Regions from separate parts of the Homo sapiens genome. Here region 1 is linked to region 2. Evidence: promoter capture Hi-C in human tissues and cell types (Jung and others, 2019). All regions are on one chromosome and are shown on one strand. The core of a region is centred on a gene start or on the middle of the fragment in contact, and the rest is flanking DNA. Distances in the headings are between cores, read along the strand shown. Region 1 overlaps GREM2 (gremlin 2, DAN family BMP antagonist). Region 2 holds the start of GREM2 (gremlin 2, DAN family BMP antagonist).

Evidence for each region. The method cuts DNA at HindIII sites, captures the fragments that hold promoters and counts their contacts. A contact is called where the count stands out against the background at its distance.
Region 1: a fragment that was not itself captured here is called in contact with the fragment with the promoter of GREM2 in region 2 in 2 of the 25 tissues and cell types used here (H1 embryonic stem cells and adrenal gland).

The regions. Positions count from the first base shown.
Region 1 is chr1:240,548,042-240,552,544 of GRCh38, reverse strand. All of the region lies in intron 1 of GREM2 (gremlin 2, DAN family BMP antagonist), which reads left to right. Among named protein-coding and RNA genes, the nearest start is that of GREM2, 62 kb to the left of the region's middle. The HindIII fragment of the contact is 4,298 bases long and covers 1-3,716 here.
Region 2 is chr1:240,609,674-240,613,927 of GRCh38, reverse strand. GREM2 (gremlin 2, DAN family BMP antagonist) reads left to right here and starts at 1,773. Exons shown (of 2, transcript NM_022469.4): 1 at 1,773-2,044. The HindIII fragment of the contact is 18,584 bases long and covers 1-4,254 here.

The sequences.
Region 1 (4,503 bases), core at 318-2,817, 61 kb after region 2:
CAGCTCGCTGTAATCTCAAACTCTTGGGCTCAGGCGGTCCTCCCATCTCAGCTTCCCAAGCAGCTAGGACTGTAGCATATACCACCATGGCTGGCTAATTTTTACTTGTTTACTTTTTAATTTTTTTGTACAGACCACATCACTCTATGTTGTCCAGGCTGGTCTCAAACTCCTGGCCTTAAGCGACCCCCCCACCTCAGCCTCCCAAAGCACTGGGATTACAGGCACAAGCCTCCGTGCCCAGCCAAAACTGTCTTTCTATATAGGGAAATGTGTTTTTTAGAAAATGAAAGCTCCCTAAAAACTGGATATGACTTTCAAAGAAAACAATAAGAAATTCCTTTAGTTGAGTGTCTTTGATTTAGCTGATTACTGAAGGCAGAGGACTGAATTTGGTATCATCTCACCATCACTTATACCCAAGGATCGTAATATTACTGCTACAAGAAAAATCTGTGTTCTCTATGGAAGGTCATCCAGTATATGAAGTATGTAGAGTAAGAGAAATTTATGAGAGACACTGTGGTTCAATGGAGAATGTTGGCTTCATAGTCCTGGGCTATTCACTAAAATTAGGTGTAATCTTAGATACACCCTCTTATTTGCAGAATTTACACTCCCTTTCTATAAAATTTGTAAGGAAGGTTGGCATAATCTCTAGGATCCCTTCTTTCTTGAAGAAACTATGACTTTCTGAGGTTCCTCCTCCCTTCTCCATTAATTCAACACATTTTTGTCCTCAATATCCTCACTGAAAGCCAGCCTCAGCATTTAAGAAGGCAAAAAGAAAGAAAATAAACAGAAGATCTTATTTCTGTGAGGTTTTTCATTCTTATTTGTGCTTACATTTTAAGTGTACCTCATTCAATAGTTCATTTAGAAAATAGGTAAACTAAAAAAAAAAAAAGTAAACTAGACCAGGCATGGTGGCTCATGCCTGAAGTCTCGGCACTTTGGGAGGCCAAGGTCAGGAGTTAGAGACCAGCCTGGCCAACATGTGAAACCCCGTCTCTACTACAAATACAAAAATTAGCCCAGTGTGGTGGCATGTGCCTGTAGTCCCAGCTACTCAGGAGGCTGAGGCAGGAGAACTGCTTGAACCCAGGAGGCGAAAGTTGCAGTGGGCCGAGATTGCGCCATTGCACATCAGCCTGGGTGACAGAGCAAGACTCCATCTCAAAAAAATAAAAACAAAACAAAAAAAAACACAAGGTAAACCTATTATACTGAAAATGCGTAGTTTTCACTGAACTCAGTTTCCATGCAAATCAATTTTTGTTTTCAGATGTCAGGGCTTTGAGATCCACAGTCATTCCATTCCCAAGAACCAGTGTTTCATCTTACTTTGAACCCTCATGGAGAAGATCCAAGTGCAGAGGCTATTTCAGTACTCAAGTAGACTCTGTGCTTGGATCAGCTCCACAGAAAGCATGGGGAAGATGAGAAACCAGCTCAATTTCAGAATAAAACAGTATAAATCAAATTTAAGAACATCCAGAGATATTTAGCCCAGGATAGAAAACTTTAAATGAGTTCTTTTAGGCCATAAAAGATTCTTTTTTCAAAATTATTCCTTTTAATTCCAAGTTTCCATCCTAACTGGTCTTCATGATTTTGCTACAGTAATTGCAATCTGTCTAAATAACGAAGGGTGTATTTTAAAGGATGTAGGCTGAGGATGTTTGACAATGTCCATTTGATTGGATATGTCAGCACAATATTTGCTTTTGATCATTCGTAATAGCAATATTCAATGAAAGACATTTTGAATTAGTCAACTTGTAACAAAAATATTTACATCTTTTCAGACTGTCTCAACAGCTCAGTAGCCAATGTGAATATAGAAAAGGAAATGTCATTATAAAGCAAAAAATCAGAGTCTAAATTGACTACTGAAGATACTTAGTAGAGTTCTATTTCCACCTGTCATTTTTAATGCAAAACAACTGATGCTACATTGTGTCCTATTCAGTTTCCCCACTACTCCCCAAGTACCCCGGCACAGAATCTGATCATTTTACCTTTTGTTATGCTATCCTCCATCCTGGGTCACACTCACATTCACTGAGTCTTCTGAGCATTGTTGGAGAAAAGCAGGACATTGTGCCAGGAGTTTGTTTGTTTGTTTGTTTGTTTGTTTTAACAAATCATTAATCTGTAAATCCGCCTGAGTTAATTGGGGGTTTCGGCAAATGGCTAGTTCCCCTAGTAATCAGTGCCCCTGGCTGGGCGCGGTGGCTCACACCTGTAATCCCAGCACTTTGGGAGGCCGAGGCGGGTGGATCACCTGAGGTGGGGAGTTTGAGACCAGCCTTACCAACATGGAGAAACTCCGTCTCCACTAAAAATACAAAATTGGCCGGGCATGGTGGCCCATGCTTGTAATCCCAGCTACTTGGGAGGCTATGGCAGGGGAATCGCTTGAACCCGGGAGGCGGGAGATTGTGGTGAGCAGAGATCCCGCCATTGCACTCCAGTCTGGGCAACAAGAGCGAAACTCCGTCTTAAAAAAAATAAAATAAATAAAAACAATCGGTGCCCCTGACATGGCATTCCCTCGAATAAATAATAGAAGCTTTTGACTTCTTCCTCCATCCTTTCTACTCCTATTTGCCTCATCCATGGTAGAAGCAGGTGCCGGAACCGGCTGAACAGTCTATGCCCCACCTCATGGCTCTAATTCATCCCTTAATCATTCCTTATCTTGCCTACAGAGTCTGTTCTAGGTGATTCCACTCCTGATGGCCACACTGCTTTTCATACATGGAGATCTGTACCTTCCCCTTTCTGCCTTGCCAACTCTGTGTGACACAGAGCCACATCTTTCTCACTGTCTCCAAGCACATCACCGTAGCTTCAGGGATCTCTCATTCTTCAGTGTTATCTCAGAGAAGAAGCTGTAGCTCCTCTTCTCCAAGACCAAGGCCTTTCCAGATGTCTCAGTTCTGTGGAACCCCACCTTCTTTTAAATTCTACACTTTCAGATGCACCGGTTTTTTTGTTGTGTCTTTAATATTTGATTCTGTATTGGGTTTTACCTTGTAAATCTGCTCAAACCTTCTATCTAAAAACAAAAAGTCCCTTTCCTTAGCTCTGCTGGGATTTATCTCTTTTTAGGTTAACCAATTAGTTGATGTATTATTTTTACCCTACTCCTGTTCTCTATCTGCACACTTTTTGCTTTCTTTCTTTTCTTTTTTTTTTTTTTGAGATGGAGTTTCTCTCTTGTTGCCCAGGCTAGAGTGTAATGGTGTGATCTTGGCTCACCGCAACCTCCGCCTCCCAGGTTCAAGCAATTCTCCTGCCTCGGCCTCTCGAATAGCTGGGATTAGAGGCATGTGCCACCACACCTGGCTAATTTTTGTATTTTTAGTAGAGATGGGGTTTCTCCATGTTGGCCGGGCTGGTTTTGAACTCCCGACCTCAGGTGATCCACCCGCCTTGGCCTCCCAAAGTGCTGGATTACAGGCATGATCCACCGAGCCTAGCCTTGCTTTACTTCTTAACAGTCTGATCTGACTTTGGGTGCTTCCTTGACTGGATCTGTTTTCAGTGGTTACCAATGACCTCTTAAATGTCAAACCCAGAGATCTTTTGTTCAGTCATTATTCTTCTGGATTACTCAGTAGCTTCTCCTAAAATCCGTTTCTTTATTTAGTTTCTAGGCTTCTACATGGACCTAGTTCTCTTTTTACCGTCAAGTTTTCTTTCTAACCAAGGTTGTTCGTTTTCCTTTTTTCTCCTTCATTCTTTCCTTCAACCTGAGCATTCATTATTCACAGCCTCCCTCACTTCCCTTTTATTTCTCCCTCAGGAATTTCATCTCTTTTCATGGCTCTAAAGAACACCTTTCCCAAATCTTTAGTCTCGAACTCACTCTTTATCTTTATCTGCAATTAGATACCTCTTACTAAAAGTCCTGTGGTTACTTCAGACTGTCAACATCTTAAACTGGACTCATATATTTTTAGCCAAAACCAGTTTATACTTTATAGATATAATTGAAAACATCATTGTTCCATCAACCCAAACCTAAAGATTTTGAACAAAGTCTTTCTGCACAAATGTAATACAATATATACTTAAGTATGATAAGAGGACTATGTGCAAAAGTTCTAAGGAATATGGTTGACTAAGAAATCTGAAGAATTGGAAAAGACATGGGGAGTTGTTTAAGAAGAAAATTTTAGAGTCTTGTAAGATTGAGCAGCCAAGATCCTATTTCTTTGCCTTTTATTTATTTATTTAATTATTATTATATTATTTTTCTGAGACAGAGTCTCACTCTATAGCCCAGGCTGGAGTGCAGTGGCACAATCTTGGCTCACTGCAATCTCCGCTTCCTGAGTTCAAGTGATTCTCCTGCCTCAGCCTCCCGAGTAGCTGGGATTACAGGCACATACCACCACGCCTGGCTAATTTTTTTTTTTTTTTTTTAAATTTTTAGTTGAGATGGGGTTTCACCATGTTGACCAGGTTGGTCTCGAACTCCTGAGCTCAGAT
Region 2 (4,254 bases), core at 524-3,023:
AGCTGTGTTAACCCTTTGCTTTCCTTTGAGTCAAACAGTTTGTATGAACAAACAGGGCAGTCATCCACTCTCCCAGCTCTATTTGCTGTCTGCCTTCAGCAAGTCACTTTATCATTCCTCCACTCTGTTTCTCCACCTGGAAAATCTGGAATATCATACCTATAACTCCTTTTTTTTTCGAAGACTGTTGAGATCTTTAGAAGAAATACATTCTACACTTTCAAAGATTTATGACAGTATTTTGTTTTTAGCTGCCTACCTAAAGAAAGGGAATGAACTGGAGTTGTTGAAGCAATAAGGATATGCCATTTGAGGTTAGACTGTGGTTAGCAGGAACCAACTGCTAAACGTGGTTTTGTTTTGTATTTCCTTTGTCAATTTCAGCTGATTTCAGGCAGGCCCATTCTGAGAATAAGGCTGCATTTCACAATTCCTGTAATGTGCCCACGTAAGAAAGAAGGCAGGTAGTCTGTTTGGTGATAGTATATTTCAAGAACTAATTGTTATTTCCTGTGAATTTGCAACCCAATGTGCTGTGAGTTGAGTTGGAACTAGAATATCAAATACCAAATAGCATACAAAAGGGATAACACTGCAAAAAAAAAATTCAAGTCAAAAATCAAAACAGAGCTCAGAGATTTCAGAAGCAATGGCTTCTTGTCAAGAATAACTGTCATTAAAATTTCCATAAGCACCAGTGAAATTGATTTTGGGGAAAAGTCTAAGGGAGGGTCTGTTTTATAAGACACACTGAAACTTTATTTTATTCTGAATTTCCCCAGCCAAGTTTGTAAGATCTCAGATTTTTCTTGGGCCCTTTCCCTGCCAAGGGGCCAAAGGTTTATCTCTATTGACACATACAGATAAAAAATTTTCATCCAGGAACCTCTATCAGCAGAGTCTGAATAGTCGTCTTTGGCTGGTGAATCACACTAAGGGAGTCTCAGTCCTGAGATGATCAGTGGTGAGAAGTTCAAAAAATAATGAAAAGAGCAAGCACTTAGGCGTCACAATACGCTTCTGGTATAACGCACCAAGCCGATGGAGCACAAGAATTGGTCTGGCGTCATTGTTTTATGTTCTCTGGATGTTGAAGAGTCTGATTTGCATTAGAAACCTCTGCATTCAATAAACAAAAATCAGGATAATAATGACCAAAGTACTATTTGGAACAGAAAACAAATTCAAGCAATGGGTGTTTTGCACTGAATTCATTCAAGATTTTATTAGTTAAGCTCTCACTTAGGTTATTAGGCTCAGCTTGCTTTTTATTTCACTGGCCTCAGTTACTGCAAACAAAAGGAGCCTGGTGTGTGTGTGTGTGTGTGTGTGTGTGTGTGTGTAAGCGCACGTGTATGAGAATGTCAGACATATCACACACAGGCTTTCTACATTCTTCACATTGGAAACCCATCAGCAAAAGGAAGAAGATCTGAAGGGAATGAGTGTTTTTTTTTTGTTTTTTGTTTTTTTCTGGTTTAGGGGATGGAGGGAGAATTTCTCTACATAAACAAGAAGGTTAGAATTGGAAGTCTGCTAAAAAAAATGTTAGAGCTGACCACAGGGTTGTAAATCCACTGACTGGAAGGAGGAAAAGAGAAACATTGCAAGCGACTGAAGTGTGTGGTGTGGCTGCAATGTTTGTGGGTTAGATGAGAAACAAGCGCTGAGTGAAACAGAGAAGGGGGGTGGCTGGTGTGATTTGTTTGGTGTTCAGAGCCAATAGAAATCCCAGACTCTGATAATATCCCCATGCAGCGCCGAGAGGATTCAGAGCTAAGTCTCCGGGCTCCTTTCACATCTGCAGGAGCAGCCAGCCTGGGACCGCGCGGCGCGGGGCGCGCTCTCGCCTCTCCTGCACCCTCAGCCGGCGCGCTTCTCTTATGGGCGTCTGCTGCAGTCTGGCTGCGGTCGAACTGAAAGCGGCGGCGGGAGACCAAACTTAGACCCCGCTGTGGACTAGAGAACTCAGAGAAGGCAGAGGGAGAGGGAGAGAGAGAGAGAGAAGGGACCCGAGGAGGAGGCTTCCATCACGTCATTGCAGGTACGCAGCTTGTCACGACTAACGTGACACAGACACGGTTTCTGATTTCTACCTTCACCAGGCACTTAGAATGAATTGACGTTGTTTGTTCCGTGGCTGGTCAGGACCGAAAGCCCTGAGTGGACGTCTCGCCGGTTTCACCCCGGGTAATTCAAGCTGTTGGCGTGTGTCTGGGGGCCACAAGGTTTATTCACCTATTGAATTATGCGTGGGTGTAACATAAGGACCTTCAAACTTGACCGTGATCGCTCTTTCTTTCTCTTTTAAATAACGTCAATACCAATATGTTGTCATCCCACCAATAAATACCTCTTGGTGACCGCCATTCTAATCATGACTATAGCGAGGCAAACACCATCCAATTGTTAGAAAGCGGGCTACGAACCTCTCCCACCTACCTACCAGGTTAATATCCTCCCTACAGGAATAGGAACCACAGCGGACTTCGGCAGAGTTTTGATTTTTTAAAGCATATGGCCAAGGTGCACCCGCCTCATGAGGGAAATATCACTATTATCACTACGCTGTGGTTGAAGGAGAAGAGAGAAGGGAGGTAGTTATTTTTTAACGTGATTGTCAGTGATCCTTCCTGTGTACCTGACTTATTTCTACATTGTCTTACGAGTTTAAAAATGCATTTGTATTCTGCACGCCAGGCACGTTCAGTTCCAGGATCTCACATATTACTACATTAAAAAGTCATGAATTGGAACTATCTAGTAGATGTGATAGTTGTAAGAAAATATTGATGTTTGATTTTATTTTATTTGATCCTAAAACTCATAAACTTCTATTTCTTTTTTTTTTTTATTTTGAGGTGTGGGTTTTGTTAAAAAAATCTATTTCCTGAGATTTTATCATGTTTGATTTGAAATTTTAAAGATAGTTATATAACTCCCCACCCCTTGATGACTTGTGATTAAATTAGCATTGCTTAATGAGTTCAGTCTTTCCTGGGAAAAGCCAGAGGGGACTGCAAGAAGTCAGTTAAAAAATTGGTCTTGCTTTGCAGTCTTCAAGGGCTGGCTGGTATTCATGTGGCTCTGAATCCCTATGAAAAGCGCTTTTTCTGCAGTGGAACAGATTGGGACTCCAGTACAGCCAGAGAATGGCTCTGCAGCAGGTGCAGGGGCAATCAAATACCTTACCTTTCGTCTAAACAGCACTCTTCCCAGTGGAGTCTTAGTCGATCATATCCAAACCATTCACTGATAATTCGCAATCGACTCACCATTCAGCCGTGCTTAGCTTTCAAGGTAGCCTTTGTCCCAAGACATGTGCCCGACCAAGGAAGATAAGAAAGTTATAAGAAAGGTATTTGTGTTGTATATCACAGTGGAGAATTTATATCGACCTTTTTTTGTTTGTTTGTTTTTTGTTTCTTATCAGATGAACATGTTCTTTCTGTCATTAAAGGAAATGCATGCTTAGCTCTACCATAGAGTCAGGAAAACTTCATAGTTTTTGCCCATCGACTGATCTGAATGATTTAACTGGGTGCTTTTTGAAATCGTGTCAAAGTATAGACATGGCAAGTGAATATTATATTTGGGAGAAGGCATTTTAACTTTATAGATAAATTTTTTTTCCTTTTACATCAGAAAGAAACTGTAAAGAACTGATCTGTGCAAATAAATATAAGTTAATCGACCCAACTACATTCTATTGGTAAAGAGTTGTTTTGTATGATTGTGAGCATTTGTCAATCTTTTATAAATAAAATAGCTGCAATAAGTTGGGACCTATTTCTGTCTTATCTTTCTAACTCTAAAGCAATGTTGGGTGTGTTGGTAGCAACTTTGTGAGTGTGAGACGGATTATATTCACTTTGTATAGACTAGGAGACACTGATGGCTTTTCAAAGATAAATATAAACAATGCTGTGATTATTCATTGTTTTTTGCTATCATTCTTCACCGAGAGAGGTAATCAACAGTTCATTCTCTATGAATCTTAGTAGAGCCAGCCAGAGCTTTACATACCCTCGAGTTATAAGTTTGGTAAAGTTTAAACAAGGTACATGCCTTTAAATCTCTTTAAAGTAAACATCTCTTTTTCTAATGCAAAGGAATGGTATTAGACTCTCAGTTCTTATTGATATGGAGAGGATTGGCCTGTCTGGGTCAAGGGCAGACACTGAGAGACTGCAGAGGCACAGGCACTCAACAGATTAGTTCAGCCACTTTTGTACTTCAGTGTTGCTACAGCAA